Linked DNA regions of Homo sapiens: all the other regions are linked to region 4. Evidence: promoter capture Hi-C in 16 types of primary human blood cells and fetal thymus (Javierre and others, 2016). All regions are on one chromosome and are shown on one strand. Each heading gives the region's core, a stretch centred on a gene start or on the middle of the fragment in contact. The rest is flanking DNA. Distances are from core to core; before and after follow the strand shown. Region 1 holds the start of MIEF1 (mitochondrial elongation factor 1). Region 2 overlaps CACNA1I (calcium voltage-gated channel subunit alpha1 I). Region 3 overlaps CACNA1I (calcium voltage-gated channel subunit alpha1 I). Region 4 holds the start of FAM83F (family with sequence similarity 83 member F). Region 5 overlaps CACNA1I (calcium voltage-gated channel subunit alpha1 I). Region 6 overlaps CACNA1I (calcium voltage-gated channel subunit alpha1 I). Region 7 overlaps CACNA1I (calcium voltage-gated channel subunit alpha1 I).

Region 1 (2,778 bases), core at 242-2,741, 490 kb after region 4:
GGAAGTAACTTGCCCGCGGGCCCACAGCTGTCAAGGGGAGGGCTGCACTCCTGACCCCAACTCTGCCTGCCTCTGGAATGAGTTACCCTTTGCTGGAGCCGGACCGTGTGTACAGCACTTCTGGGTGCTCCACGAACTTTCCCAGCACAGCGCTTGGCACATACAAGGGGCTCAAAATTATGCGTAACGGAGAGAATTTCACAACGTCCCTATGTGGAAGAAATGATCACCTCCGTTTCAGAAATAAAGAAATGACACCAAGTGGGGGAAGTATTTGGCTGGAAAAAAAGATTGGACTTTGGGCCCAAAGTCCGCGAGCCCTTAGCCTCCGGCCTTGCTAACTTCCTGCGCAAGCTTGAGCAAGCCACCATCCCTGCCCATTTTTCCTCAACTGTTTAAGAGATCCCTCGGCCCTAAGGACCTCCCGATGCAGAAAATCAACAGAAGTGTTTGATGCTGTAAAAGGCGACTGTCACGGCGAGGGCTGTAACTACAAGGTCGCTGGGCGACTGGGCGGCTGAGCCCCAGCCAGTCTGCACTTCACCAACCGTGGGGGCCGGGCCGGGGTGCGGAGGCCCAGAGGCCAGGGCAGGCCTGCTTCGGGGCACTGGAGGTCTCCGAGGTTGGGGCGGGGCGGGGCAGCCGAGGGGTCTCCCAGGGGAAAGTCCAGGGCGGGATGGGGCGAGACCCCCGGCTGCATGCTGGTATCCTGACTCCGGGCCGCATGCGAGGCGCCGGCAGCAGCCTGAGAGGAGGCGCTGCAACCTCCCCGCCGCCCAGCCGCCGGCGGCCCTCATTCCTTCTCTCACTCACCCGCAGGCCGTGCGCGCTACCACTCCGCAGGACTCGCCTCTGGCCGGGTACCTCTCCCCGGGTCACCCATCAACATGGCCCCTTCACTTCCGGGACACGACCTTGCGCACGGAGCTGCGAAGGGGCTGAAGGGAGCACGAGGGCGAGTGGAGGCGGAGGGACTTCCGGTCTTCTCCAAGCTCTCTCTCGGGCCCCGCCCCCTGCGCATGATTCCGCCCCCCAATCCTGAGCCCCGCCTCCGTGTGTGACCTCACCAAGGGACTGGCCTGCAGAGGCCACTCGCGCCCCGCCCCCAGAGGACTCCGGTGTCCGGGTCCGGCTGTGGGTACCGGGGTGGTCCCGATGCTGGCAGAAGTTCAGAGGGCAGGAGGTAGCCTCGCTGTCCAACAAGGCTGCCGCACCGGGTAGGCCCCTCACCTGCTGGCAACCCCTTAGCCTGTCGGGGTACCTGGCCAGCCTCCTGTACTGTATATGCTGATCTCTGGCTGGGGCCCTGGGGTACCTGAGGGAATTCTAACACTAATATTCAGAGCTCCTCAAAACCCATTTTCTCAGATCGCCTTCTTTTCATCCCTCCATGCTGTTCCTACTCCCCAGGCCCCATGGCTTCTGGCAAACTCCTACCCTTCCTTCAAAGTCTACCTCAAATGCCCCCCTTCACTGGGAAATCTCTCCCAGCCCCTTCCTCGCCTCCCTCTAACACACTCACGTGCCTTCTTTGGGCCCCACGGAAATGTCTGCACATCTTACGCCTCATAATCTGTTCAACAACAAAACGTATTTCTTGGCGCCTACCATATGCCAGGCACTGTAATTTATCCATTTGCTTCTCTGTCTCTCACTAGATTTGAGGACGGAGGCCGTGTCTCTATGGAAGCTCCCTCCCCCAACTGCCTCCCTCCATGCCTGGCTCTGCCAAGCCCAGGGCCTGGGGCTTTGGAGTCCGGGGCCACCGGGGCCACCGCTGGCTCCTAGTTCCAGTTCCACCACTTAGGGACAGCTGCCCTCTGCCAAGTTTCCTAACCTCACCCAGCCTTGGGGCTGTGGTGAGGATTAAAAGGTAATATCTACCAGTAGAGGGGTGGGCAATTGCAGAATAGTCAGGCTATCTGATAAAAGGACGAGAACCAGGAGAAGAACATTGCAGGGAAGAGCATTTCAGGCCTCCCCCCAGGTAAGCCTTTAAGCTCAGCGTGGTCTAGGAGCCACAGGGAGAAAGCCAGTGCTTTCGCAGCTGAGTGAGCAGGAGCTGGGAAAGAGGCCAGAGGGGAGGCCCTTACCAGAACTGGGAGGGAGATGGCGGGTGCAAAGGAACCACAGCAGGGTTCAGAGCCAAGAAGTGCTGGGATCTGACTTCCCTTTCAATGGGATCTGTCTGGCTTGAGAATAACGGAATGGAACCAGGGCTGAGGCAGGGAGACCAATCAAGAGTCTGTTGCAGGGCTGGGCACGGTGGCTCACGTCTGTAATCCCAGCACTTTGGGAGGCTGAGGTGGGCGGATCTACTTGAGGTCAGGAGTTCGAGACCAGCCTGACCAACATGGTGAAACCCCATCTCTACTAAAAATACAAAAATTAGCCGGGAGTGGTGGCATTGTACCTGTAATCCCAGTTACTTGGGAGGCTGAGGCAGGAGAATTGCTTGAGCCTGGGAGGCAGAGGTTGCAGTGAGCCAAGATCACGCTACTGTACTCCAGCCTGGGCGACAGAACAAGACTCGGTCTCAAAAAAAAGAAAAAGAAAAGAAAAGAAAACCAAGATGGAGAGAGGCATAGTAGTTTCTAAGACACTGAGCTAAGAAGGAAAGAAGCTTTCAGTGGAAGCCAAGTCTGTCTTACTCTGAAATGTGTGTTCTTTCCACTCTTTCAGGCTGCCCTAATTTGCTTTTTAAAGAATTTTGTGACCCAAATAAATATAATTGGTGGCATTTCCATCGGCATACCAGATGACCTCTTCATATCTCTC
Region 2 (3,112 bases), core at 7-2,506, 350 kb after region 4:
GTACATGATCTCCACCCAGCCTTCCAGAGTGATCACCTGCAGCGCGCAGAGGAGAGAGAGCCGAGAGGACTGGCCCATCAGAAAGCCCGTAGCCCAGGCAGTGCCCCAGACAGAGGCCCCACTGTGTGCCAGAACGCATCACACATGCTGCCTCGAGTCTGTCTCACAGGGGCTGGACAAGGCACATCACATTATACAGGTGAGGAAACTGAGGCTCAGTGAGGGGAAAGCACTTGCCCACTGTCACACAGCCAGGAAGGGGACGTGCCAGGACTTGAACCTTGGTCCCTCCAGTCTACCACACCAGCGGGAGGGCTGGAAAAGCAGGGAGCCTGCCCCTGCTCCAGCTTATCAGCTGGGCCACCCACCCTCTTTGAGTCTCAGCCGCTTCTTCTGTATGTGGGGAGCCCACCTGGCAGAGCTGGGGTGCAGCTCGGTGGAGCCTGGGAGTGCACACCGCAATGAGGCTGGTGTGACTTTGTCACCCCCCACCCCACCCCAACTCCTTCCCAGACTGGGGGATGGAGCAGCCTTGAGAAAGACAAACCCTGGGTCCTTGTTGGCTTCTGGCAAATGCACAGAGTGGGACCCCCTGAGCGGCCACCCACCCTCCTGGGCAGAGGGTTCCAAAACACAGCTGTTGCCGTCACCTCACACCCTGCATCTCTGAACAAATGACCCTGATGCTCCCCAGGGCAAAGTGCCCAGGGCAGCAGAGGGCAGCACAGGGCAGCAGAGGCAGCGCAGGGCAGCGGAGGCAGCAGAGTTCAGCCCTCCCGCTGCCCCCTCAGGGACTTCTCAGCTCCCCCTCTGTCTGCTCCTGCCCCTTCTTTCTGAGGACAGCAGAAAGGTAACCTCTACCCAGCACTCTGTACACAGGGCTGGCTGCCCTGAGCGTGCCATCTGCTTTATTCTTAACAATGACCCAAGGTGAGGGGGGCTGTTATTACCCCATTTTAAAGATGGGAAAACTGAGGCACAGAGAGGCCAAGCAATACTGGCCAAGGTCCACTGCCCTAGTTCTTTCCCTACACATATCCCAGCCCATCCTCTGCAGAGTATAGGCTGACAGTCAGTGCAGTGGGGCCACGCAACAAGCCCTTTGCACGCCATGAGGCTAGTGCTGCTTTGTGAACCTGTGTGCATTATGTGCACTGGGTGACAAGGCGAGACACATTTCTTTCTGACTCCAGATGAGCTACTTGGCACTCCCTGTACCAGAATTTTGCTCAGGCTGTCCCCACCAGGAATGTCCTCCTACCCCATGATCCTGGCCTTGGTCAGCCAATCCCTCCAACAGAGCTTGAATCCTGCCTCTCCTCTCTGAACAGCCCTCCCTGCTGGGATCCATAGGGCCCAAGGCAGCCTGAGGCTCTGCAAAGAGCTCAGGCTTTGGGGACACCCAGAGCTGGGTTAAGAGCCTATTTTTGCCATTTAATAGTCACATCATCTGTGGTCAATTAGCTTGCTTCCTTTCTTTGAACCTTGGGTTCTCTGTCTATAAAATGGGCATGATAATGCCTATTCTGCCAGCAAGCTGGGCAGGTTTCAGTGAGATGAGGGCTGGCAAATGCCTAGCACAGAGCCCTGCCCACCAGGCAGAGCTGCCCACTCTAGGACCAGGCTGGCCCCAGGCCTGAATGGCCTCACCTGGAAGATGACAATCCAAGCATAACCGATGTTGTCAAAGTTGATGGCACCCTTGTGGGGGTTGGCGCTGCCCGTGCGGCACACATTGTAGTAACGGTTCCAGTTGACACAGAGGCCGCTGGCATTGAGGTCCTGGCGCCCCGCCCCAAAGTCGTAGACGTCGTCCTTGGACAGGCAGCACTCACGGCCCTGCTCCTTGAGCGGGGGGATCTCATGGCAGCCCATTATCCCATTGTCGCCCGACAGGGAGCAGATGAAGGGCATCTCATCATCCTCCTCCGGCTGGTAGTATGGGGGCAAGGCCACATCCCCTTGTCTGTCCACAGGCGAGGGTGGGTAAAAGAGGGAAAGGGGAGGGGTCACTGTCAGGAGGATCAGGAAGGGAGAGGCCATGCAGCATAGCAGGATGGCCTTGTCACTGCCTCCAGGCCTTGGCACATGCTGTTCCCCTGCCTTGGTCACCCTTCCCCACCTCTGTTATGGCCATGAAAACCCCCACTGGCCCACTGTGGTCCCCTTCTCTGGGGAGCCTCACTGTGCCTTGCACACACCTTCATTATGGCTCCTGGGGGAGATGCCCTCAACTCCCTCGGGAGTCTGGACATCTCAGCATCCCCAGGCCACACACACTGTTGGGTTCGCACAGACAGAGCAGGTGGTCAGTAAACAAGCACTGGCTTTTACCGATCTAGCAGATGACAGGTAGATCCTCCATCTGCTCCACCCACTTCCATGTAAGTGATCCTGGGCTGATCACTTCCTCTCTCTAGACTTCGTTTCTTTTTTTTCTTTTTTAGACCGAGTCTCACTCTGTCACCCAGGCTGGAGTGCAGTGGTGAGATCTTGGCTCACTGCAACCTCCACCTCCTGGGTTCAAGCAATTCTCCTGTCTCAGCCTCCTGAGTAGATAGGACTATAGGTGCACACCACCATACCTAGCTAATTTTTGTTTTTTTAGTAGAGATGGGGTTTCACCATATTGGTCAGCCTGTTCTCAAACTCCTGACCTCAGGTGATCCACCCACCTCAGCCTCCCAAAGTGCTGGGATTACAGGTGTGAGCCACCGAGCCGGGCTGCCCTTCTCTGGACTTTGATTTCCTCATCTATAAAACAGACAACAATCCCTACTATGACCATCCAGAAGGGTTAATCTATGCTTCATTGCAATCCTAATCAAAAATCCCAACATTTTGGCCGTGGAGCCTGCCCAGATGGTTCTAGGATTTATTTGGATGGGAAAATAGTCAAGACAAGCTTTAAAAAGGAGAGAGATAAACAGAAACCAGATCTATAAGAGAGCAAAATACTGTACAACTATGATTGTTAATACAGTGTAGCACTGTGACAGGAACAGAAAGGTTAATGGAATGCCATAGAGCACAAAGACAAACCCATGTACAAAGGAGAACTTAGTATATCACAGAGATGGCTTTTCAGACCTGCAGAGAAAGGAGGGACCCA
Region 3 (2,964 bases), core at 366-2,865, 390 kb after region 4:
AGCCTCCCTGACCAGCCTCCCCACCCTCAGCCACGTGATAGGGGCACAGCTGACACATCCTGCCAGGGGTGAGCCTTCACCTCCGTCTGGCCTATAGGAGCTCTGCCCACCCTACCCTCAGTGATTGGCTTAGGGATGAGCACATGCCCCACACCAGCCAATCCAGGCCAAAGAGGCTCAGTTCCCAGGACTGATTGGAACTGCTAGGAAAGGAAAGGTGTGTCTGAACTGGAGGGAGTCGGCACTGAGCCCCGAGCTGCCTGCCACCACCCTGCCACCGTGAAAGCTCCAGGGAGGGAAGTCAGCACAGACTAGCAGAGCTGTGGGATAGGAGCACACACCATCTAGAGACATCTTTCAGGATTCTAGAGCAAGCGGGCCCTGAAGCTGGAGACCTCTTGGCTTTTCAGTAGAGGAAACAGTTGACTCCCTTAAACCAGATTCAGGGTTTCTGTCCCACGTAACAGAGATAGTCCTTCCCGATTCATGATTGACCCGTGTCAGGCACCTCAGCCTGTGGCCAGAGAATCTCTGGTGACTTCCCCCAACATCACACATGGCAGCTACCATCCTGTTTCCATGGAAACGAGCCTCCACAGTGACCATCACCCTCTCTCCCATCCCATCCCATATGCAAATGAGAAAAACACACTAAGGTTCCTATTGGAACCTTCCCCAGTCCACGCCCACCCAACGGCAGCTCAGCTTAAAGAAAATGGCTCCAGATATCCTCTCCCCAGCTCTTTCGTGCCTGGGTGCAACAGACAGGAAACAAACATGTAATGATGCCTCCACGGCTCTGGGGACTTCAGGATGATGACTAGCCTTGGTCCTGCCCTCAGAGCACCCAGTGCATCTGAGCATCCACAGCCGCAGGGCAGACAGACCTGTAAGTCCAGGATAGATCAGAGTGTAAAGTCAATGACAAAACCAGAAGGGTCCCCTGGGCTTCAAGACATTCGGAGGGCTTCCCTTACCCACCAATAGTGCACACAGAGTTGTGCAGGAAGGCCAGCTCCAAAGGCTTCTGGGCATCCAAGTGATTGCCTTCTGATTCCCATGACCACAGCAGGATCTGCTGACAGGCACTGGGCTCTGTGGAGCTTGCCTAGGTTGGTATTGACGTTAGAGATCTCAACAGAGCCCTGCCCCTGCCCAGTCAGCACAGGCAGAGCTCCAGAAGCTCTAACCAGGGCTTGGAGACATGGTAGAGCCACGGCTTTGGCAGAGGGTGGGTGAAGAAACTGAGGCTCAAGGAGAGGAATGTGGCTGACTCGGAGTGCCCCCATGATGGGCGTTCTCTCTCTTGTGATCTTGCCTGAACCCAAGGAACAACTCTTGTTTGATTTAGCCAAGTTCAATGATGCTTTCTGCTTTCCTAGCCTTGCTGCCACTCAGGTGTCCATCAGACCCAGTTCTGGCCAAATGCACTAGGGAAGGGAAGGATCCCGGAAAGAAAATCTCATTTTCCTGATCCAAGTGGACATGCCCTGTCACTCTTCACCCTTCTTTCCTGTCTTTAATTCAGACATGACACCCACGGCTTCACCGGCTGCCTTGTGACCATGAAAGAAAGGCCTGGAAAATCACAAGGATGTCAGCCCCCACACTGCAGAACTATCACCAGTAACCAGAACTTTGTGTTATGTCAGAAAAACACGGATTCAGGATTTGCCTGAGCCACAGTTGGTTGGGTTTTCTATTACTTGCAGCCAAATGCATCCCTGACAAATACACCCAGCAGTCACACTGAACCAGGACCCAATCCTGGTGGAGCTGGTGGAGCTAAGCTCCCTGGGTTCAACTCCTGACTCTGCCCCTTACCAGCCTGTGACCTCAGGCAAGTTACTCCTGTCACTGCCTCATCTGTGAGGTGGAACTGACCACAGCCCTCACAGGGCTTGTCTGACCATTCAACAGGATGATGCACGGTGTGAGCACTCAGCAGTCAGCGTCCTTATTCTTATCACACTCCTGGAGGCATCAGAGAATTAAATTACCTTTGCCTTTTGAAGTCCCACTGATGGGGCACTTTGGAAAAAAGGAACTCTCAGCCAGCAACCTCAGCAGGGACATACCTGCCTGATCTTTCTAGAAAGCCCTAGCCCAGAGCTGAGGAACAATTCTTAGTGGCTTTTTGTTTCCCAAGAGTCTGTAAGAGTCAGGGTGGAGAAGCTGTTCCCAGCATTCCAGAGACCATGTTTCCAGGGTACAATAAATTTTTTTTTTCTCTTTTCTTTTTTTTTGAGACAGGATCTCACTCTGTCACCCAGGCTGCAGTGTAGTGGCGCAATCTTGGCTCACTGCAACCTCCGCCTCCCAGCCTCAAGCAATCCTCCCACCTCAGCCTCCTGAGTAGCTGGGACTACAGACACACACATTTTTTTTTTTTTTAGCTGTGGTTTCACCATGTTGCCCAGGCTGGTCTCAACCTTCTGAGCTCAAGCGATCCATCCACCTCGGCCTGCCAAAGTGCTGGGATTACAGGCAAGAGCCACTGCACTCAGCCCAGGATACAAGTCCTAACCCAGCCTCTCCTTCTCACCCTCTAGCCAAGGTGCTAAGTTACTAATATTACTTTATTAATACTATTAATGATCATAGAAATTCTTTTTTAAAAAATGTTTTAAAGAAATGGGCTCTCGCTATGTTGCCCAGACCGATCTCTAACTCCTGGGCTCAAGATATCCTCCCACCTCAGCCTCCTGAGTAGCTGGAACAATTGACACACACCACTGGACTGGGTGATCACAGAAGTTCTTTTTTAGAGACTGAGACTCTGTCTCCCAGGCTGGAGTGTAGGAGTGCAATCTTGGCTCACTGCAACCTCTCTACCACCCGGTTCAAGCTATTCTCCTGCCGCCCAAACAGCTGGGACTACAGGTGTGCGCCACTGCGCCTGGCTAATTTTTGAATTTGTATTTGTATTTTTTTTTTTTTTTTTTTTTTGGAGATGGAGTTTCA
Region 4 (3,021 bases), core at 464-2,963:
TCCCTCCTCAGGCCTCTTCAGCCTCGAGGGGAACCAGGACTCCAACCTCACTCACTGAGTGGAATTTGAGTGGTGAACCCAAGCCACTCCTGTTGTATTATTCTGAATTGGGCACCAAAAGCTGCTGCTGTTTCTTAACAAATCTCAGTGTAGGGCAGCCAGAGTTAGCAAATAAAAGTACAAAACGTTCCCATTCAATTTGAATTTCAGATACACAACGAAGAATTTTTCAGTATCAGTACGTCTCATGTCATGTTTGGGATAAGCTGATACTAAAAAGTTATGTGTTGTTTATTGAAAGTTCAAATGTAGTGGGGCATCCTACATTTGATCTGGAAGCTGCCCAGGACTCCCACCCAAAGGCATAAAGATTAAAGTCTTCCACCTGTTCCACAGTGGACTGGCCTCACCAGCCACCCTGGAAACAGCCCCTCCTTCCAACTCTCAAGCAGGACACATATGCTAAGTAGGAGCCCTTTCCTGAGCTGCCGAGTCAGGTGACCTGCTGTGCCAAGGCGCCCAGCACAGGGCCAGGCACACAGTAGGTCCTCAATATACCCCGTCCCCCATTCATTCCAGGCAGCTGGGGCCTAGTACCCGGCCCAGGAGAGGCTGTGACTGTGAGGGCGCCAGCTCAGCTTTGACTATGGGAGGAGAGGGGTGGTCCAAGGAGCAGCATGGCAGAGGTGGGACCGGGAAGGTCACCGCCACCCACTCCCTGAAGTTGTTTTGACGATCACATGAGAAAGCGGCTCGGGATATGTTCTGGGCAGCACGTAGGTTATCATCAAGACCTTTGAGTGGTGCATTTTAACCACAGGGCCTCGGCCCCCAGTCTTCCCTGGGGAGGAAGGCTGGACAGGGAAGTTTCAGAAGTACAGAGCAGAGCCAGTGCCTCTGAACGCTGGAATACCGACGGCTGACATCTGTCCAGCACCTTGTAATTTGCCAAACACGTTCCCAGCCATTCGCTCTACAGGCCTCACTGCAGCCCCAGGAAGTAGGGGCGGGTTGGGGCCCATTTTCCAGAGGGTGCTCAGGGCGGCCTGCCCCGGGCCCTGCCTGGGAGGTGGGGCCCGGTCCAGGGGACTGGGGCCGAGGTCCCAGCGGTGTGGGGGCGAAGGCGGGGGCCTACCTTCTGGGCCTGTTGGATCATCTGCCTGACCACCTGCTTGAGGTGCGGCGCCTTCTCGTCCTTGGGCGGGTGGGTGAAGAGCGTGACCCGGCTCACGCCGCGGTAGAAACCAGTGTCCGTCCAGCCCAGGTCCAGAGGAGGCACCTCGGTGTCGGAACGGTCGGGCCAGTAGGCCAGGGACTCGCCGGACTCAGCCGGCGCCGGCGCGGGGGCCTTGGCCTTGGCCTTGCTCTTGCCCCGGGCGTTGGCGGCGGGGACGGCGTCCTCGTAGGGGCTCCAGGCGGCCCGCAGGGCCTGGCGCTCCGGGCTGGAGAGGAAGTCCCGCAGCTGCTCCTCCTTGAGCCGCTCGCGGTAGGCCTGCTCGCCGCCGCCCAGCAGCGCCTCCAGCGCGGCCCGCCGCCGCTCGCAGTAGTAGAAGGCGGCCTGCGCCTCGGTCACCTTCTCGTTCACGTGCGCCTCGTCCAGGCAGTTCAGCTGGGACTCGGCCATGGCGCCCCGGCCCCGGCCCCGGCCCTGGCCCCGGCCCCGCCGCGGTCCGAGGTCCCACAGCCGCACCTGGAGCCGCCGAGGGGCGGGGCGCCTCACCTGGCCGCGAGCTCTGCCCCGGCCCGTCCCGCCCCGCCCCGCCGTCGGGGAGCGGCCAATCCGCGCGGGCGTGGCCGTCGGGCGGGGAGGGGCCGCCGCCTCCGCCGGGCTCGCCGGGACCTCCGGGCGGCCTGGCGGACGCGGTCGGGCCCGGGCCTGCAGGGCCCACCAGCCGGGGCTAGAGTCCCTGAGGGGACGCCCCCAGGGGGCGGGGCCGTCGCAGACCCACGTGCGGGCTCCGGCCCCGACTCCTCCGCGGGGTAAAGGTTCGCTGTCCGGCCCTCGCTGCCATCCGCCCCCGCCGGCCGCGTCGCGGGTACGAGTTCATTTTCCGCGCACGTGGAGTCCGGAGCACGTGTTCTGGCCCAGTGGCCTCTGGGGCCGCCGAGCTGACCCCTTCCCCGTCGAGGGTCCGGTGTTGGTGGGGGGGCCTGCTGCAGGACGGGATTGTGACGGCTGAGGAGCGGGCAGGGGGTGTGCAAAAGCGAAATGCTAATGAGAGCTCGAGCTCCCCACCCTTGCGTCCCAGTTCTGAGATCAGAGCCCTTCTGGGCTGGGAGTCCAACACCTTCACTGTAAAACTTTCTTTTAAAAAATAGCTATCCAAACAGAAATGATGTAAAGAGCAGCAGTGGAATTCCCCCCGCCCCCACCTTAATTTGAAGTAGGGTGTGTGGTGTCTCTCCGTGTGTGTTTGGGCAAGATAGGCTGCCAGAGACATGATTACTATATTAGTGATTCAAAATGTATGTTTGAGCTCAAGGAAGGAAACCGCACGTGCGTGCACACCACACACACGCACACACACAGCAGCGGTGGCAGCAGCTCTGCTGTTTCCCATCGGATTAAATACAATCGTCTTAGTCATTAACATATTATGTTGTTCATGCACTGCTCTACAATTTGATTCTCCACATTCAAAATATTTTCAGATCATAACAACTAAAGGTTCACATTTCTCTCACTTTATAGCGCAGCATCTCAGAGCTGGAAGGAGCTTTTCAAGCTCCTCCAACCCCCTCATTTTACAGTTGAAGAAATTGAGGCCTAGCAACGTGTGCGTTGCCCAGGTCTCCCGTGAAAGAGGCAGAGCACGGGGACTGCAAGGTTTTCTGTCTTGGAGGTCTTTCGCTGACATCACGGCCGCCTTTACCCTTTCTCCTTTTCTTGTGAAACGACAGGTTATTGGGGACCTGGTTTTCACCCCAGGGGATTTGAAAAGGTCACTTACCATTTCTAGGCCTTCCTTTCATGCTCTGGAAAAAATGAGAGTTAGATTTTCAAATGTCTGCACATTATTG
Region 5 (2,869 bases), core at 152-2,651, 320 kb after region 4:
AGCTTCAGCACTGCGGGCGAGACCCAGCCCTGCCCACTCAGCCCCAGGCCGGTGGGGACGTGTGTGTGCACGCATGTGTGCACGTGTGTAAACTTGGGAGAAGAGAACATGAAGGCACGTGCAAGCAGAGTCTGGCTCTCAGATACCACATTACAAGAATGTGGGTGCAGCCACAGGGTGAGTGGGGCATGCACAAAAACATGTGGACACAAGGCGTGGGTGTCACTGTAGAAAAGCCCCCGAGGACGGGGCATACTCATGGAAACTGAGGTCTATGAAGTGTGTGAATGGGTGGGCCATGAACTGTCACGGGCACAAAGGACCAGCGTGAGTGGCCACATCTCTTCTCTTCCCCTCTCGATAAAGAGGACTCTGGCATCACTCGCTGAGTTTCTGGCAGGCAGAAGAGCAAGAGGCACCTGGGCTCGCCCTGAGGCAGGAGGCTTTTAAAAGAAGTGTACGAACTACCTTGAGGGGAGGGAGAAGGATCTCTGAAGACCGTGCGTCCCAGTCACTGTGTTTGAGAAATGCCAGCGAGGAACTGGAGGTGTTTCACATCTTCCCAGTTGGACTGGGTTCCTTGCATCACACTCTGAGACTGGACCCCATGGGTCATGGCGTCATAAGGAAGTGGGAGTGTGTGTCCATGTGTGCTATGCAAAGTTGCCTGTGTGTTGGGGGAGGTGTGTGCACACAGAGGGTGCATGCGTGTGTGTTGGCTGTGTGCCTCCCAGCTCCTTCTCACCCCTGTTCAGCAAGGAGCCCACCATGCCTGCAAACTCCTGCCCCCACCCCTCCCCACCCCACTCCTGTGTGTTCTCATCAGGCAATGAGGAGTCTCATCCCGCCCCTGCTTGTCCCCGTTCCCTGTCCCACCCCTTGCCCCTCACCTCGGGCAATGCGCAGAACCCTCATGATGCGGATGATGGTGGGATTGATGGGCAGGGCCGCATTGATCTCGATCTCCTCCAGGGTGATGCCCATGACTGACAGTAGCACAATGGCCAGGTCCAGCTGGTTCCATCTGCTCAGCCGTGCATGGGAGGGCAGGAGTGGGCATGAGGAGGATCCCTCTGGTTCAGACACACCTTAGTGGGGGGAGCCTCCCAGGTCCTGACCCTTCTATTGTGGCCCATTAGGCTGTGTGGCTGCCCTCCCTTACTAGCCCCTCCTAACGCCACTGGGTCCAGGCCCCTCTCTGCTCCCCATAGCCATCACTCCGTCAAGCAAGGGGCTGATCAGGCTAAATAAATATCTCTGGCCTCCTGCAGGAGAGGAGGCATGGACTATGACTTCCAAGTCTAATCTTGAGCTGGCTGCTCTCTCTGTCTGGCCTTAGGCTAGTCCATCAACTTCTTTGAGCCTCACTATTCCCTTCAAAAAGGAGTATTAGCATGAGGCAGACCCTGCTCTGCCCATAGGGTAGAGACAACGTACCAAAGATGAGCCAAGAAGGGCCAGGTAGAATGCCCTACGCCCATCAGATGATACCATAATTATTTCCTGTTCAGAGCTATAAGCAGCAGCTGGGGTGCCTGTCCATCCGTGCCTAGATGCTTACTGGTTCCCCTCTTCAGGCTGCTCCAGACTTCCCTAAGGGTCAGGACTGCTTCTTCATCCTGCAGTCTACCCTATTACTGCCCTAATCCAGCCTGGCCACTCACCGGTCCTTGAAGAAGCGCCTCAGACCAAATGCCACCAGCTTCAGCACAGCCTCCAGCACAAAGACAGTGGTGAACATATAGTTGCAGTACTTGAGGGCTGTCTCCAGGGACTATGGAGGAACAAAGAGAAGCATGATCCAGGGCACATGACCTGCTCCACAACCTTCCTCCACTCAGAAAGTCTCTGCCTTTTAAGGAGAGAATTTAGTCCATTTACTTTTAGTGTAATTATTTATATGCTGCTTTTATTCTTTCCATCTTAGTGTGTACTATTTATTTTATGCTGCTATTCCTTCTGTTCCCTTTTTCTTATTTATGTGTATCTGGTCGAGTTGGTACCTTTGGAGGCAATATAGGGTATTAATGAAGAGCTACTGAGCCAGACTGCCTACATTTGAATCCTGGCTTAGTGCTCACTCCATATTCACCTTATGATCTTGAGTAAGTCATTTCATCTTAGAAAGCTGGTATGCAAATTAAATGAGCTGATAGTTCGGTGCTGGAAACAGAATAATACTTGGTAAATGTAAGCTATTAATATTCCATTTTTCCTGTTAATTTGGAAGTTGTATAATTATTGTTTCATTCTGCCAATGGTTATCTTTCTTTTTTCTGCATTCATAATATTCCTCTCCCATCATTTGAAATAAGGTATTAATTTCACACCTGGCGGCTCTGCTTCCCTCTTCTTCCCCTCCAACTCCATCAGGGTTTTTAGAATGCACTTGCTCCTCACATGCCCCTCACATACCTGGTCTGCAACAAGCTGGGAAATGGTCATCCTCACCCACCCCCAGTGTTTGCCTGAAATGGTCCTTCCACCCTTTTGCCTCGTCTCCATATACCCAGGTAGTAAAGGAGGCTACATGGTAGGCTTTGAATGCAAATCTAAGTTCCAGACCTGGTTCCACTACCTATGGCTGAGTAATTTGGGCAGCATATTTAACCTCTCTAAGCCTCAGGCTCTTCACCTATAAAATCCAGACAAAGGATTCCCCCTGCCAGCCTTAGGATTGCTGCGAGGATTAAAGAGTTCATATATGTAGCGTGCCTTGCAAAGAGTCAATATTTAACACATCACAGTCATTGCCACCCATGTGCAAGCCACGGTCCAAATCCTGCCTCCCTGACCCACCTTCCCTCTGACCGTTCCCTTCCAGACTCTGAGCTTCCTGAGGGCAAGCTTGTCCGGCACCTCCTCCCAC
Region 6 (3,220 bases), core at 418-2,917, 420 kb after region 4:
CCCCTGTAATCCCAGCACTTTGGGAGGCCGAGGCGGGCAGATCACTTGAGGTCAGGAGTTCAAGACCAGCCTGGCTGAAATGGTGAAACCCCATCTCTTATTAAAAATTCAAAATTAGCCCGGCATGGTGGTGCGCTTCTGTAATTCCAGCTACTCAGGAGGCTGAGGTGGGAGAATCACTTGAACCCAGGAGGCAGAGGTTGCAGTGAGCCAAGATCATGCCATTGCACTCCATCCTGGGTGACAGAGAGAGACTCTGTCTCAAAAAAAAAAAATGAAAGAAAAGAAAGAAAGGCTCTGAAAGTCTAATCTAGGGTGGAAAATAATAATAGGTTTCAGGCTGATGGCTCCCCATAGCTGCCAGAGGTGCCCTGCTGGAGAATGCCGGCAGGCTCGATTAGCAATGTCTGCACTGATGGGGGGCATGGCCACTAGCAGCAGAACAAGCTCAAATCCACCTAAGTTAACAGAGATTGGGTCTGATGTTCCTTGGAAACAATGTCCTCTGAAGGTGTTATGTTCTATCTAAAGACCTGTCCCCAATGTCTAATTGAATCTACAGCAAGCAGAGTGTTGACTCAGCAGTACGTGAGGGCCCTGTTCAGGGTTCAGGCACAGGTAATCAGAGTGATAACCACACATATGGTGGCTTTTCCAGTTCCCAAACTCCACTGTCACACTGTCCTGCTCTGTCCTCAGTGCAATCAACCCTGTGGAGTGGGTATTACCACCCGTGTTTGACAGGTGGGGAAACTGGGGCTCGGAAATGTTAAGAAACTGACCCATGGTCACACAGCAAGAGACAGAACCAGCCTCTGGGTCTGTGTGATTCAGGTGCCCAGCGCTTTCCACGGTGCCACACGCCACCTCCCCGTGATTCAAGTAGCACAATGTATCCCCTGACATTTCGAATCCAGAGGCCTTGCAGCTGCATCTGCAGCTGACAGCCCATGCCCACGGCCCAGGCCAGGCAGGGAGCGGTGCTGACATATGGGCGAGTGGCCCTTTCCCACCCCACCTTGCAGGCTCCACAAGGGTCCCAGCAGCCTGCTGGCTCTCCAGTGAGTCAGGCGGTGACTCAGGGCCTAGCTCCGGGCTGGAAGAGGAGCTGAGTCAGGGAGCACCAGGCTTCAAAGAGCAGCTGGCTCTGGGCCAGGGCCCCTCAGCACCAGGACATGAGCTCAGGACAGGCTGTCTGGGGGACCCTCCCATGCTGCCCTCCCCTTCCCGGGCCTGGCCATCATGACAGCAGCTCCCACCAGCCTGACTCTGATGCTACGCACCCACCACCCCTTTGGGTTCTCAGTGGGGGAAAGAGTCGCCCTTTGCAGGGTCTAGACATGTGAAAGGTCATTTATGGTAGTCACAATGATTGAAGGACACTACTACTATTGAATATGCAAGACAGACAAGACTACAAAGCACCGTCAACCCCCAAATGCCAATGGTGTCCCATTGAGGAGTACAAGCTTAAGCACTGCCCCAGGCCCCCTCCCACAGAGCACAAGAGGGAGTGAAGTTTCCAGCCAGGAAAGAATCCTAGAGGCTTCAGCCCCTGCCCCACCCACACACGCACCCCATCCCAAGCCCCTAAAGCCCACCCTGAGCTCCCCACGACTGAGTCTCTGCTCCAGGGGACAGCCCTATGGACAGCCACGTCTCCTGGGTCTCTGTTTGTGGAACCCTCCTTGGCCCCTCTCCCACCTGACCCAATTCAGCTATGAACTCTCAGGCCAGCAGCGGCTGCAGCCACCGGGTCCAGAATCCTCCAACTCGTAGGCACACAGCATCACAGCCACCAAGTCTTAGGCTCACACACTCTTTGAAACACAGAATTTTGCAGCCTTTGAATGACAGAAGCTTAGAATTTCAGTGTCGCTGAGCCTTAAATCTTAACTTTGAACCCTTAGACTGTCGCAGAAGTTTTCAGTCTGAGTGTCCCAGAGCTGACACCTTTAAAGTTGCTGTGCTTTTGAGTCGCCACATCTCTGGCCTGAAGAGAGTCCGTATCCCACCAGTTAAGGCCGAGACCTGAACCACCTCTATCCCAGTCCAGCCTCAGCAGCCCTGGCCATGGGGATGCCGGGGGAACCCTCGCTCTGCGCAGCTCCCGGGACTGAAAAGTCCCTCCTGATGGAGGGGGGCTGCTTTCTGCCCCACCCCTTGGACCCAGGGCTCTCTCCAAGACAGACAAGAGGCAGGCCCAGCTCCTCCCGAAACCAGTACTCCTCTCCCTCCTGGGCCAGCCCCACTGTTGTCTCCAACCCCAGGCCACAACCCACATGACCTGAGGATGGAGGTGAGAGGGGTGGTGAAAACCAAGGAGACAGTGGCCCCAAGGACTCTGTTTGCCCAACAGGCCAGAAATATGGAAAACTGGGTGGGTTCCCAGGGGCTGGCTCACTCAGTGGTCAGGCGTCAGGGTGCCTGAGATCAAGGCAGCCCCCATGGCGTGTGTGGCTAACACCCTGGGCTCCCAGGGCTGGAAGGGGTGATTCGTCTGCCGTCTCCTTTTTAGGTGGAGGTGCTGAGGCTCAGAGAGAGGAGACTGCCCAGGGTCACACACATGGCAGACAGGACTTGACCACCCCCATCTAGGGGCCTCTCCGTGACACGTGGGCAGCACCCCAGCCAGCCCAGCCAGAGCCCATCAGAGACGCAGCTGGGTCAGACTCCCAGGCCAAGTCCTCTGAGCCATGCCCCTGCCTCCAGCCCAGAGCAGTATTGCCCATCCAGACCCCCTAAGGTTCAAAGAAGCAAAGTGACTTACTCATGGTCACACAGCACCCAAGTGACAGAGCCAGAATCAACTCTTGTCATCTCACCCAGGAAAGGCCCCTGAGACATTGTGAAATTGTCCCCCTGGTCCTCCTACCAGCCTTTCTCTTCCTAAAGGCCCAAAATTCCTGCGGCCGCCCCCTTCTCAGGCCTGGCACTCCTCTGTTCACATGCCACAAGCCCCTGAGGTTTCCCCAGTGCTTTGTATTAAAACTAGCCACGTAGGCTGGGCACAGTGGCTCACACCTGTAATCCCAGCACTTTGGGAGGCCGAGGCAGGCGGTTCACGAGTCAGGAGTTCGAGACCAGCCTGACCAACATGGTGAAACCCCATCTCTACTAAAAATACAAAAATTAGTAGGGCATGGCGGTGGGTGCCTGTAGTCCCAGCTACTCGGGAGGCTGAGGCAGGAGAATTGCTTGAACCTGGGAGGCGGAGGTT
Region 7 (3,043 bases), core at 401-2,900, 400 kb after region 4:
ATTTGTGGCTTCAGGCATCCACTGGGGGTCTTGGAATGTGTCCCTTGTGGGTAAGGGGGGGTGCTACTGTAAATCTCTAGGGGCCCTGCCCACTCCAACATCCGGGGACTCAGGAGTGTCTCCAAGCAAACCCCTCACCCCTCCATTTCAAAGCCCTTGCCCTTAGCTGGGATGTAGCCACACCAGCCAAACCCTCAGCAGGACCCCACCCAGAGAGGAGTGGGAGAGGTGACCTGGTTTCCATGGCAACAGCCTCCCTCCCATCCCCAGCCCTGCCCACTTTGGGATGCTGCCTACTCGTGGCCTCTTCTCAGCTCCTCCTGGCCCCAGCCCTGCTCCTTCCCGTCCCCTCACCCCACTGCCACTCTCCCGCCATAGCCTGTAATTAATTTCAGTCGCTGCCAGGGCCCCCTTCGAGCCTGAGCCTGGCTCCAGCAGCAGCTTCATCATTAATTAACTTTTTTGAAGTTCGAACATTCTAATTACCAAAGAACATCCCCCATCCCCCTCGCCTTTCCCCTCTTCCTGTCGTGCGCTCTCTCCTTCCAGCCCCATCCTCTGCTCCCTCTGCCCCTCCTGCCAGTTTCAGGCTCAAAGTGCACTTAGTGGCGTCTCCCAGGAGCCCGGTGCCCCTGCTGCCTCCTCAACAAGGCCCTGAGCAGTGGAGGTCAGCAGGCCCATTTTACAGATAAGGAAGGCTGAGACATGGGGAAATCAGGGGCCTCTCCTGGGTTTCACAGCTAGGAATTACTGGCACAGAGATTCACACCAGGCCTGCTGGACTCCAAGGCCAGCGCTCTCCTCTGTGAAGTACGGCCTGTCTCTGCCCATGGCTCTCCTCCCTCCCCTGAGGCCTCTCAGCCCATCTTCAGTGTGTCTCCCCAGGACCCTGACCCAGCATCCTCGGTATCCCCCAGCTCTGGTCTCTGCCCCTCCAATCTGCCCCACACGATAACCAGGCACTTGCTGTGTGCCCAACACAACTTGAACATTTTCCAAATGTTATCTCATTTAATCCTCACAGCTCTTTTATAAGCCCCATTTACAAATAAGGAAACCAAGACACAAAAGGGAAACAGATTGGCCCAAGGTCACCAGCTGGAAAAGAGCAGAGCTGAGACACAAAACCTCAGGCTGGAGGCTTTTCCTGCCTCCAAGCTGTTTTGCCACTGCCAGGCTAATCTGCCTGAAACACACTCTCCAGATGCCTCTCTCCTGCTCAAGAACCTCCCATGGCTCCCCATCACCCTCCCAAGCCTGGTACGCAAGGTAGACTCTCGCCTCAGTGAATCCTTGCAGTCTTATCACTCACTGGCCTCAGCACTCGCTTTCTCCAAACACGCCTTCTGCCTACACTTTCCCTTTCCTCCACCTCTCCAGCAGGCAGACTGTTTCAGAGCCCAGTTCGCAGGTCACCTCTTCTTGAAGCTTCCCCGGATGTGCCTCTTGCCCCTCACAAGGTGGTGGCTCAGCCTCCTCTCCAGAAGCACTCCCACCTGCCCTGGCTAGCACGTACCACAGTGATGAATTTGGCAGTACCTCTGACGACTGTGTACCAGACACCCTAGGGACATGACCTCAGCTCTCACAATCCCCTGGGGATGGAAAAGGAACAAGCCTGGAGAGCTGACACCACTCACACAAGGTCACCCAGTCCCCGAGCAGCCCAGATTGTCTGATTCACAGCAGTGCTGGTGGCCGCTGCACAGCACTGCCTCTGTGGCCCATCTAACTCGCCCACTGCACTGGGTCCCCGCAGGAGGCAGATGGAGTGGCTTTCATCCCTGGGCTGCTCAGCTTCAGAAATTCAGCAATGGATGGTCTCAGCCCTTGCCCAGAGGTGCCCGGGGAAATCCCAGATGGCAAAGCTTGGGCCCCTTCCAAGAGCCCAGGAGGCTTAGAAGTCAGGCCAGAACTGGCATCACTGCCCGCGGTTCCTGACACACTCCCCACTGGCTCAGGGATCAAAAGCACCAGCCCTCCTTGAAGTTAAACCAGACAGTGCAGTGTGGGGTAGGAGGGTGGCGGGGGGAGTCAAGGTCTCCGGCTTGAGCCACTCTGCAGCCTGGCCTGACGCCTCATGCTTCCACCATGAGTCACAAGTGTTGAGGAACTCTCTGAGAACACAGGCAAGCGAAGCCGTGAGGTTCGGGGACAACCTGAGGGAAGCTGGAGACCCAAGGGGGAGCACAGGATTTCTGGGTGACAGAGGGGGCAGGGCTGGAGTGCTAGTGCCACGACGGCAGGACGTCTTCAATGGCTCCCAACTGCCTCTCACAGCGAGGCTTGAAGCCCTGCGACGGGCATCCAAGGCCCAGCTGCCTCGCCTACTTCACCCCTCAGGCCCTCACTGCAGTCGGGGTGACCTTTGCCACAGAGCAGCCCTGCCAGCGTCGTTAGAGAGCAACGGCTCCAATCCCTCATTGCACTGATGGAAAACAGGGGCAGAAATCTGTCCCAGCTCCACAGCAAGCCCAGAGCTGAAGTGACACTTAGACAACAGACTCACCACCCACGGGGGTCCCCAAGCCACAGTCGATTTTTCAAACTCACACGGAAACCCTCCGCGTTTCCCCACACACTCGGCACAGCCACAGTACCATCACTTTAAGCTGGTTAGATCCCTGACGGGCAGCCCTGAGCGCCTTTGAGGAACACAGATGGAGAAACAGATCAATGGTGATGCAATCAATCGAGTTTCCTTGGCAGGCAAAGCCGTCCCAAGCACACAGGCCTCGGGGAGAAAATCACTCAGGGTCTTTGGGTGCTGCTGCAGAGCCCCCCAGCGCCTCAGCACAGCCTGGGCCCTCAGCCCCACTTCCTACCCACGTCCCCGCACCACACCTCTCAAAGTCTTCAGAACTGGGGTCTCAGAGCTGAGCAGGGGGAATGAATGTGCTTATATTGTGTGCCTGTTGTGTGCCAGGCGCCAGCCTGCCGGTGGTAATAATGGTGACAATCGCGAACACTTCTTCAGTGCCCCTGAGTGTCTGTTTGCCAAGGAGCCTCCAAATCAAACAGCATGCATGGCCAAGCGCGGTGG

The links. Contacts are between HindIII fragments. The CHiCAGO score rates a contact against its expected background, and 5 or more counts as called.
Region 1: a contact is called between a fragment that was not itself captured here and the fragment with the promoter of FAM83F in region 4, in 2 of 17 cell types (naive CD4 T cells and erythroblasts). The highest score is 5.8, in naive CD4 T cells.
Region 2: a contact is called between a fragment that was not itself captured here and the fragment with the promoter of FAM83F in region 4, in 13 of 17 cell types (M0 macrophages, M1 macrophages, M2 macrophages and 10 more). The highest score is 12.8, in M0 macrophages.
Region 3: a contact is called between a fragment that was not itself captured here and the fragment with the promoter of FAM83F in region 4, in 10 of 17 cell types (activated CD4 T cells, M0 macrophages, M1 macrophages and 7 more). The highest score is 9.3, in activated CD4 T cells.
Region 5: a fragment that was not itself captured here is called in contact with the fragment with the promoter of FAM83F in region 4 in 2 of 17 cell types (M0 macrophages and M1 macrophages); the score reaches 6.2 in M0 macrophages.
Region 6: a fragment that was not itself captured here is called in contact with the fragment with the promoter of FAM83F in region 4 in 9 of 17 cell types (M0 macrophages, activated CD4 T cells, M1 macrophages and 6 more); the score reaches 9.0 in M0 macrophages.
Region 7: a fragment that was not itself captured here is called in contact with the fragment with the promoter of FAM83F in region 4 in 10 of 17 cell types (M0 macrophages, endothelial precursors, activated CD4 T cells and 7 more); the score reaches 8.5 in M0 macrophages.

What each region holds. Positions count from the first base shown.
Region 1 is chr22:39,500,473-39,503,250 of GRCh38, reverse strand. It overlaps MIEF1 (mitochondrial elongation factor 1), which reads right to left and starts at 961. Exons shown (of 6, transcript NM_019008.6): 1 at 814-961. It overlaps LOC105373035 (a long non-coding RNA gene), which reads left to right and starts at 1,091. Exons shown (of 3, transcript XR_938263.4): 1 at 1,091-1,217; 2 at 1,659-1,987; 3 at 2,683-2,759. RefSeq lists a silencer at 563-672 and enhancers at 180-679, 773-822, 680-1,181. The HindIII fragment of the contact is 2,269 bases long and covers 357-2,625 here.
Region 2 is chr22:39,639,721-39,642,832 of GRCh38, reverse strand. It overlaps CACNA1I (calcium voltage-gated channel subunit alpha1 I), which reads right to left. Exons shown (of 37, transcript NM_021096.4): 6 at 1,651-1,966; 7 at 1-36. Among named protein-coding and RNA genes, the nearest start is that of CACNA1I, 71 kb to the right of the region's middle. The HindIII fragment of the contact is 3,303 bases long and covers 1-2,907 here.
Region 3 is chr22:39,608,102-39,611,065 of GRCh38, reverse strand. All of the region lies in intron 3 of CACNA1I (calcium voltage-gated channel subunit alpha1 I), which reads right to left. Among named protein-coding and RNA genes, the nearest start is that of CACNA1I, 39 kb to the right of the region's middle. The HindIII fragment of the contact is 4,472 bases long and covers 1-2,964 here.
Region 4 is chr22:39,993,646-39,996,666 of GRCh38, reverse strand. FAM83F (family with sequence similarity 83 member F) reads right to left here and starts at 1,713. Exons shown (of 5, transcript NM_138435.4): 1 at 1,136-1,713. The coding sequence starts at 1,624. It overlaps LOC124905155, which reads right to left. Exons shown (of 2, transcript XM_047441700.1): 2 at 1,899-2,319. The coding sequence ends at 1,899. RefSeq lists a silencer at 1,671-1,790 and an enhancer at 1,365-1,998. The HindIII fragment of the contact is 8,768 bases long and covers 1-3,021 here.
Region 5 is chr22:39,671,104-39,673,972 of GRCh38, reverse strand. It overlaps CACNA1I (calcium voltage-gated channel subunit alpha1 I), which reads right to left. Exons shown (of 37, transcript NM_021096.4): 27 at 1,665-1,774; 28 at 891-1,024; 29 at 1-10. Among named protein-coding and RNA genes, the nearest start is that of CACNA1I, 100 kb to the right of the region's middle. The HindIII fragment of the contact is 2,897 bases long and covers 1-2,849 here.
Region 6 is chr22:39,572,836-39,576,055 of GRCh38, reverse strand. The region is part of intron 1 of CACNA1I (calcium voltage-gated channel subunit alpha1 I); the gene reads right to left. Among named protein-coding and RNA genes, the nearest start is that of CACNA1I, 3.7 kb to the right of the region's middle. RefSeq lists an enhancer at 783-1,284. The HindIII fragment of the contact is 391 bases long and covers 1,472-1,862 here.
Region 7 is chr22:39,591,845-39,594,887 of GRCh38, reverse strand. All of the region lies in intron 1 of CACNA1I (calcium voltage-gated channel subunit alpha1 I), which reads right to left. Among named protein-coding and RNA genes, the nearest start is that of CACNA1I, 23 kb to the right of the region's middle. RefSeq lists an enhancer at 2,171-3,043. The HindIII fragment of the contact is 440 bases long and covers 1,431-1,870 here.